Linked DNA regions of Homo sapiens: regions 1 and 2 are each linked to region 3. The links are contacts of gene promoters, found by promoter capture Hi-C in human tissues and cell types (Jung and others, 2019). All regions are on one chromosome and are shown on one strand. The core of a region is centred on a gene start or on the middle of the fragment in contact, and the rest is flanking DNA. Distances in the headings are between cores, read along the strand shown.

What was found. Contacts are between HindIII fragments. The study calls those that stand out against the background at their distance.
Region 1: a contact is called between a fragment that was not itself captured here and the fragment with the promoter of RAB3IL1 in region 3, in 2 of the 25 tissues and cell types used here (IMR-90 fibroblasts and bladder).
Region 2: a contact is called between a fragment that was not itself captured here and the fragment with the promoter of RAB3IL1 in region 3, in 3 of the 25 tissues and cell types used here (H1 embryonic stem cells, adrenal gland and neural progenitor cells).

What each region holds. Positions count from the first base shown.
Region 1 is chr11:61,811,920-61,814,682 of GRCh38, forward strand. FADS1 (fatty acid desaturase 1) reads right to left here. Exons shown (of 12, transcript NM_013402.7): 2 at 1,324-1,434; 3 at 552-749. Among named protein-coding and RNA genes, the nearest start is that of MIR1908, 1.9 kb to the right of the region's middle. The HindIII fragment of the contact is 3,503 bases long and covers 1-2,763 here.
Region 2 is chr11:61,987,492-61,990,191 of GRCh38, forward strand. No RefSeq gene overlaps it. Among named protein-coding and RNA genes, the nearest start is that of FTH1, 21 kb to the left of the region's middle. The HindIII fragment of the contact is 6,875 bases long and covers 1-2,700 here.
Region 3 is chr11:61,916,145-61,918,844 of GRCh38, forward strand. It overlaps RAB3IL1 (RAB3A interacting protein like 1), which reads right to left and starts at 1,422. Exons shown (of 10, transcript NM_013401.4): 1 at 1,213-1,422. The coding sequence starts at 1,223. The HindIII fragment of the contact is 7,999 bases long and covers 65-2,700 here.

The DNA.
Region 1 (2,763 bases), core at 121-2,620, 100 kb before region 3:
TGGCCAGGCTGGTCTTGAACTGAGATCAAGTGATCCGGCCACCTTGGCCTCCCAAAGTGCTAGGATTACAGACATGAGTCACCACACCTGGCCTGAAGCTCATGACTTATGATGGACTGACATCTAGAATACAGAAAGGACTGAAACATGAGCAGAAGGCTTGCCAAATGGGTCCTGACAGTCAAGAATTAGCGCTCAATCATTATTAACATATTGGGCAATGTCAGTGGTGGGGAGGGAGCCAAGCTTTGCTAAGAAACCAGAAACTTGGCTCCTGGCACAGGTGGGCTGTGGCAGAGAACAAACCGCATAGGAAGAAGAGAACCCTTGGAGAAGCAGCTAAAAAGGCAGTGAGAGAAATGAAGATGTCCATGTGGCTAAAGAGCAGACAGGTCAAGACAGCAGAATGCATGTTCCTGCACTCACTCCTGCATACCTTCAGATCTGCCCTGCTTGGAGGGCAGGCACTCTTGGCCTTCCTCAAACACCCAAGGAGCTTTCCCCAGGGATGCTGAGCATTGCTGTGCACTTGACAAGCCAAAGGCTCTCACCTGAACTGCACTGAGCAGCACCGCACAGAGGAGGAAGGGCAAAAAGGACGTCCCAAAGACCCAAAGGGTGAGCCAGGCTGCACCATCCAGCAGCAAGATGTGCAGCAGGTACAGCAGGAAGAAGACATGGTTGGCCTTCATGAGCCCCATCCGCTCCACTGTGGCCCGCAGCTCCCGGAACTCATCTGTCAGCTCTTTCTGCAGAAGAGGAAGAGGAGCTGTTATTCTTCTCATCTGCACCCCAATGCTACTGGAGACAAGGGCCCTCTCAGGCTCAAGGACCTCCCACTGAGGTAGCTGTGGGAAGTCCACAGTCCTAGGCAAAGATACCACGACAATGAGGATGACAGGAGGAGGTGCCATGGGATAGTGCCTAAGAGTTCAGGGGACTAAGTCCTTGCTCTGCCATTTACTAACTGTGTGATCCTTGGCTGTGTTGCTTAACCTCCCTGAGCCTGTTATCTCATCTGTAAATGTGTAAGAGTTATGAGTTTATGCTTGGTGCATAGTAAGTGCTCATATGATAACAATGATGATAACAATGATGGCAGCCATGGTAGTGGCAGCCTTGGGGGAGCCATAGGTTGCAAAGCCATGCTCCCTTGGGCCTGTGACCTCATGACTATGCAAGAGAAGCAGGGACCTCAAGACTCCCCAGAGCTACTACTGACTGTGATTACTATGACTGTGATCCCATCTAGACTCTCCTTCCACCCCCTCTCTGTCCCCCTCAACAACCAATAGTTGCGACATAGCAAACACAGGGTCTTACATTCTTGGTGGGCTCAAAGCTGGGCTGCTCTGGAGACAGTTCTCCAATCAGGAGAGAGTTCATATACTTCTTCACAAGGCCCTTGTTGATGTGGAAGGCCACAAAGGGATCCTGCAAGTGCCGGGAGAAGATGAAAGGTGAGGGAGCCAGCCCCCTGGACTCCGGCAGTGTTCGCACCAAAGGCCATCCTCCTGCCCGCCAGAAGGCTGTACCCAAGTTGAAGTGAGAGGTGAAGCCAGATGGACTTCCTGGGTCGAGTGCAGACTTGGAGAACTTTTCTGTAGCTAGAGGTTTGTAAAATGCACCAATCCGTGCTCTTTAGCTAGCTAGAGGTAAAATGGACCAATCAGCACCCTGTAAAATGGACCAATCAGTGCTCTATAAAATGGACAAATCAGCAGGACATGGGCAGGGACAAATAAGGGAATAAAAGCTGCTCCCGGCCGGGCGCGGTGGCTCACGCCTGTAATCCCAGCACTTTGGGAGGCCAAGGCGGGTGGATCACGAGGTCAGGAGATCGAGACCATCCTGGCTAACACAGTGAAACCCCGTCTCTACTAAAAATACAAAAAATTAGCCGGGCGAGGTAGCGGGCGCCTGTAGTCCCAGCTACTCGGGAGGCTGAGGCAGGAGAATGGCGTGAACCCCGGGGGAGGGCGGAGCCTGCAGTGAGCCGAGATCGCGCCACTGCACTCCAGCCTGGGCGACAGGGAGACTCCGTCTCAAAAAAAAAAAAAAAAAAAAAGGCTGCTCCCCCTCACACCCCCCAACGTCCAGCAGCGGCAACCTGCTCGGGTACCCTTCCACGCTGTGGAAGCTTTGTTCTTTGCTCTTCACAATAAATCTTGCTGCTGCTCACTCTTTGGGTCCACGCCACCTGTAAGAGCTGTAACACTCACCGCGAAGGTTCATGGCTTCATTCTTGACGTCAGCGAGACCACGAGCCCACCTGAAGGAACCAACTCCTGACACAGAAGCACAGGCCATCTCCCTAGGCCCAGCTGCCTTTTGAGGGTGCTCCCAGGTGTCCACAGTTTAAGATCACCGAGTATCTGCTCTAGTTAGAAGGATGCATCAAGGAATGGGAAGCATTGGCTGAGGGGAACCACTAAGAAACACCTGCCTGGGCTGGCCTTTCCCCTGGGTGTGTCCACAGACAGCTTTTGCCCAAGAATTTCAGTATAGGTGAGAAACAGGAGAGATGGGTGGGGCTGTGTCGGGCGTTGGTTCCTTCCGGCGGGTATGGTCTCACTGACTTCAAGAATGGAGCCGTGGACCTTCCCGCTGTTATAGCTCTTAAAGGAATAACACTCTTTGCAGACCCAAAGAATGAGCAGCAGCAAGGTTTAGTGTGACGAGCAAAAGAACAATGCTTCCACAGCCTGTAAGGGAACTGGAGCGGGTTGCAGCAGCTGGCTGGGGTGGCCAGCTTTTATTGTC
Region 2 (2,700 bases), core at 49-2,548, 71 kb after region 3:
GATCTACGAAGAGACTTAGACTCCCACACAATGATAGTGGGAGACTTTAACGCTTCACTGTTAATATTAGACAGATCATCGAGACAGCAAATTAACAAGGATATTCAGGACTTGAACTCAGCTCTGGATCAAGTGGATCTGTTAGAGATCTACAGAACTCTCTACCCAAAAACAACAGCATATACATTCTCCTCAGCACCACATGGCTCTTACTCTAATTTGATCACAGAATTTGAAGTAAAACACTCCCTGGCAATGGAAAAGAACTGAAATCATAACAAACAGTCTCTCAGACCACAGCGTAATCAAATTAGAGCTTGTGATTAAGAAACTCATTTAAAACCACACAACTACAGGGAAACTGAATAACCTGCTCCTGAATGACTCCTAGGTAAAGAATGAAATTAAGGCAGAAATCAAGAAATCAAGAAGTTCTTTGAAATCAATGAGAACAAAGAGACAATGTACCAGAATCTCTGGGACACAGCTAAAGCAGTATTAAGAGGGAAATTTATAGCACTAAATATCCACATCTAAAAGCTAGAAAAATCTCAAATCTACACCCTAACATCACAACTGAGAGAACTAGAGACCCAAGGCAAACAAACCCCAAAGCAAGCAGAAGAAATGAAATAACCAAGATCAGAGCAGAACTGAAGGAGATACAGACACAAAAAACCCTTCAGCCAGGCGCGGTGGCTCACACCCCTTCAGCCAGGCGCAGTGGCTCATGCCCTTTCAGCCAGGCGCGGTGGCTCATGCCTGTAATCCCAACACTTTGGGAGGCTAAGGTGGGCAGATCATGAGGTCAAGAGATAAAAACCATCCTGGCCAACATGGTGAAACCCTGTCTGTACTAAAAATACAAAAATTAGCTGGGCGCGGTGGCATGCACCTGAAGTCCCAGCTACTCGGGACGCTGAGGCAGGAGAATCGCTTTAACCCAGGAGGCGGAGGTTGCAGTGAGCCGAGATCGTGCCTCTGCACTCCAGCCTGGTGACAGAGCAAGACTCTGTCTCAAAAAAAAAAAAAAAAAAAAAAAAAACCTTCAAAAAAATCAATAAAGCTGGCTTTTTGAAAAAATTAGTAAAATAGATCGCTAGCTAGACTGATAAACACAATAAAAAATGATAAAGGGGATACCACCACTGACCCCACAGAAATACAAACAACCATTAGAGAATACTATAAACCCCTCTATGCAAATAAACTAGAAAATCCAGAAGAAATGGATAAATTCCTGGACACATACCCCCTCAAAGACTGAACCAGGAAGAAGTTGAATCCCTGAACAGACTAATAACAAGTTCTGAAATTGAGGCAGGAATAAATAGTCTACAAAATGGCTTTACAGCTGAATTCTACCAGAGGTACCAAGAGGAGCTGGTACCATTTCTTCTGAAACTATTCCAAACAATTGAAATGGAGGGACTCCTCCCTAACCCATTTTACGAGGTCAGCATCATTCTGATACCAAAACCTGGCAGAGATACAACAAAAAAAGAAAACTTCAGGCCAATATCCCTGATGAACATCCATGTGGAAATCTTCAATAAAATACTGGCAAACTGAATGCAGCAGCACATTAAAAAGCTTATCCACCATGATCAAGTTGGCTTCATCCCTGGGATGCAAGGCTGGTTCAACAGATGCAAGTCAATAAACATAATTCAACAGAACTAAAGGCAAAAAACATATGATTATCTCAATAGATGCAGAAAAGGCCTTCGATAAAATTCAACATCATAAATGGCTCTTATTATTTTGTGGTAAAACTAAGGATTGAAGGAACATACCTAAAGATAATAAGAGTCATTTATGACACTCCCACAACCAATATCATACTGAATGGGCAAAAGCTGGAAGCATTCCCCTTGAAAACTGGCACAAGACAAGGATGTCCTCTCTCACCGCTTTTATTCAACATAGTATTGGAAGTTCTGGCCAGGGCAATTAGGCAAGAGAAAGATATAAAGGGTATTCAAATAGGGGAAAAGAAGAAGTCAAACTGTCTCTGTTTGCAGATGACATGATCCTATATCTAGAAAACCCCATCGTTTCAGCCCAAAAGCATCTTAAGCTGATAAGCAACTTCTGCAAAGTCTCAGGATACAAAATCTATGTGCAAAAATCACAAGCATTCCTATACACCAACAATAGACAGAGAGCCAAATCACGAATGAACTCCCATTCACAATTGCTACAAAGAGTAAAATACCTAGGAATACAGCTAACAAGGGAAGTGAAGGATTTCTTCAAGGAGAGCTACAAACCACTGCTCAAGGAAATCAGAGAGGACACAAACAAATGGAAAATCATTTTATGCTCGTGGATAGGAAGAAGCAATATCATGAAAATGGCCATACTGCCCAAAGTAATTTACAGATTCAATGCTATTCTCATTAAACTACCATTGACATTCTTTGCAGAATTAGAAAAAACTACTTTGAAATTTATATGGAACCAAAAAAGAGCCTGTATAGCCAAGATTATCCTAAGCAAAAAGGACAAAGCTGGAGGAATCATGTTACCTGACTTCAAACTATACTACAAGGCTACAGTAACCAAACAGCATGGTACTGGTACAAGTACAGACACACAGACCAATAGAACAGAATAGAGATCTCAGAAATAAGACTGCACACTTAAAACCATCTGATCTTTGACAAACCTGACAAAAACAAGCAATGGGGAAAGGAT
Region 3 (2,700 bases), core at 172-2,671:
AGACCAGCCTGATCAATATTGTGAAACCCCGTCTCTACTAAAAATACAAAAATTAGCCGGGTGTGGTGGTGTGTGCCTGTAGTCGCAGCTACTCAGGAGGCTGAGTCAGGCGAATTGCTTGTACTCAGGCAGCGGAGGTTGCAGTGAGCTGAGATCTCGCCACTGCACTCCAGCCTGGGTGACAGAGCAAGACTCCGTCTCAAAAAAAAAAAAAGTCCCAAGCCTCTCCACACCTCACCCCTAACAGGAGCCCACTCTCTCCACACCCCCTGCTGGGGATGAAAGGCCATCCCTCCCCTAGCATCGCAGCTCAACCTTTGCTAGGTGCCATGGAGTGAAGTGGATCCTGCCTGCCTTTCCGGGGGGCTTCCCTCACTCCCCAGCTGTAGCTGGGCAGTAGCCCTCTCCTGGGACCACTCATCTGGCCCAGGGGGCACAGGAGTACAACCTGTCCCCCATTCTGGCCACATTTCCTCCACGACCTGGTCTTTCCCGGCCACGGGGAAGAGGAAGTGTTTGCCCAACTCCACAAAAACACCACAACCTTTCTGCACATACAGGGCAGGGGTCCCACATCAGATGGGCCAGGAACTGCAACTGCCCCTGAGAACCAGTGGCCTGAACAGACACAGCCACTGGGGCCACTAATCCAGGACCCAGAGTCTCTGCTACCCCACTCCAGGCTGCGGGGCCGGGGCGGGGGGGGTTCCCACTCCACACCTCTGAGAGCCTCCGTACTTCCAGAGCCCCACAAGGAGGTTCTGCCCTCAACTTGGGAGCCACCCTGGCAAAGACCCAGCCCCTCTTTCCCAGCTACACTGCTTTCCAAGAGTTCATCCAGCGAAGGGGTTGAGGGACAGGTTGGGAGGGTGGGCTGGGGGTCCTTCCTCTAGGTGCATGCCCCAGAGTCGTGCACACTCTTCCCCACACCCCAACTCTTCTCACTTGCGCTCCTGATGAGCTAAGAGGAGTTGACGCTGTCACCCCGGGACGGTCGGCTGCCCACCCTTCGCACCCTGCACCCCGAGAGACACCCCCGACCCCTCCCCCGGAGTCTCCTGGCTGCAAGTCGGCTCGCCTGCAGGCAGGGCGGGGGCGCACAGCACCTCCGGGTGGCGGCGCAGACCCGGCGGGGACCCCCGAAATCCTCCCGTCCCGGGAGGCGACCGCGGCCCAGACCCAGCGCGGGACCGCGAGCGCGCGCGGACCTACCCGCTCCACATCCCGGCGCCTCGGGGCGCCCAGGCGTCCGTTCCCAGCGCCGCCGCGTCCTCCCAGCGCCGCGTCCCCGCCCGCCGCCGACTCCGCCAGGGGCCGAGCCGCCCCACCGCCTGTCAGCCCTGCCCGCGGCCGGTCAGTAGGTCTCAGACGCCTGGGCTCGCGGCCCCCAGCCCAGCCCCGACCCTGCCCTGGGCGGGTCACGTGGCGGAGGGGGGAGCGGCCCGAGGACACGTGCCCGGCCCCGCCCCTCCGCCGGCCCGGCGCTGGGATCCGGCGCGCGCTCCCAAGGCCTGGCCCCACCCGGCCCGCCGCGCCGGGACAGGGAGACCACGGCGCTCGGAGGGAACCCGGCCCCCAACATCCCGCGGGCCGCGCCGCGCTCAGACTCCCCAGCTGACTCCTCCTCTCCAGTCGCCCTCCGCACCACCCACTTTGGGCCACCCCTGCTCAAGAACCTACAATGGCTCCCGAGCTCTCAGCTCTTCGATTCTCACACAGATTGTCACTTAAGGCCAGCAGACACCCTCCCCCCTCCTCACCCGGCCCTCCTTCCCTAGGCTGTCTGCTTAGTGCCTGTCCCTGTGCAACATCCTGCCTGCTGGGAAGGGGAGGGGACAAACCCGAAACAAGTTTTCTGAGTCCTACTCTCTGAGTTTTATCCCGAAGGAGTTTCCACTTCTGGTCCAACTCTCCTCACTCAGCCTCCTGCCACTTAACACGCTCTGCCCATCCCTGCCTTTACTCACCATCTGCCCTCTGGATAGTATTCCCCACCCCACCCCCACCGACACACACACATACACACACCTGTCTGGTCCCACATCCTCCGTGAAACCTTCCCTGAATCCCAGACGACTGGTCTACCTGTCCCTCAGTTCCTCTGTCCCACCCATTCTGAGTCCTGATCATTCGTCTCAACTTCAGCCTGGGACTGGACCAGTAAGAGCAGAACCCGTCTTCTCTCCCGCCAGGTACCATGGCTCCCACCTTCCCTGTCTAGGGGAGGACTGGGAGCGTGGTGGGAGGTACTTCCCCTTCTAGGTGCTACCAGAGGTCCCAGTGCTACCCCTCCAGGCCCACTGACTCAGGCCGCAGGCTCAAGTTAGTCAGATCTTCGTTTGAGGATACATTTTATTCATTCATTCTACTCATTCATACATTCAGCCACTCCATCTGAGCATAGACTATGGGGCATGCAAGGGGCTGGGGACCCAGCAGGAAACTGTACAGACATAGGTTCTGCCCTCCTGGGGCTCCACGTTGGTGGAGGATGGAGGATGGGGGACGTATTCTCTAAGACCTCCACGTCCAGGGCACAAATAGACAATGCTCTTTCCCCGCTGGGCACAGCGCACAGCAAGGTATGGAATCTGGAGAGTGGAGGCGAGGCTGGATTCTATGCCTTGCTTGCTCCCTTGGCCAGCACTTTGTGCAGTGAACAACCTAGGCAGTTCTCCATAGCATCCCTTCCAACTTTCT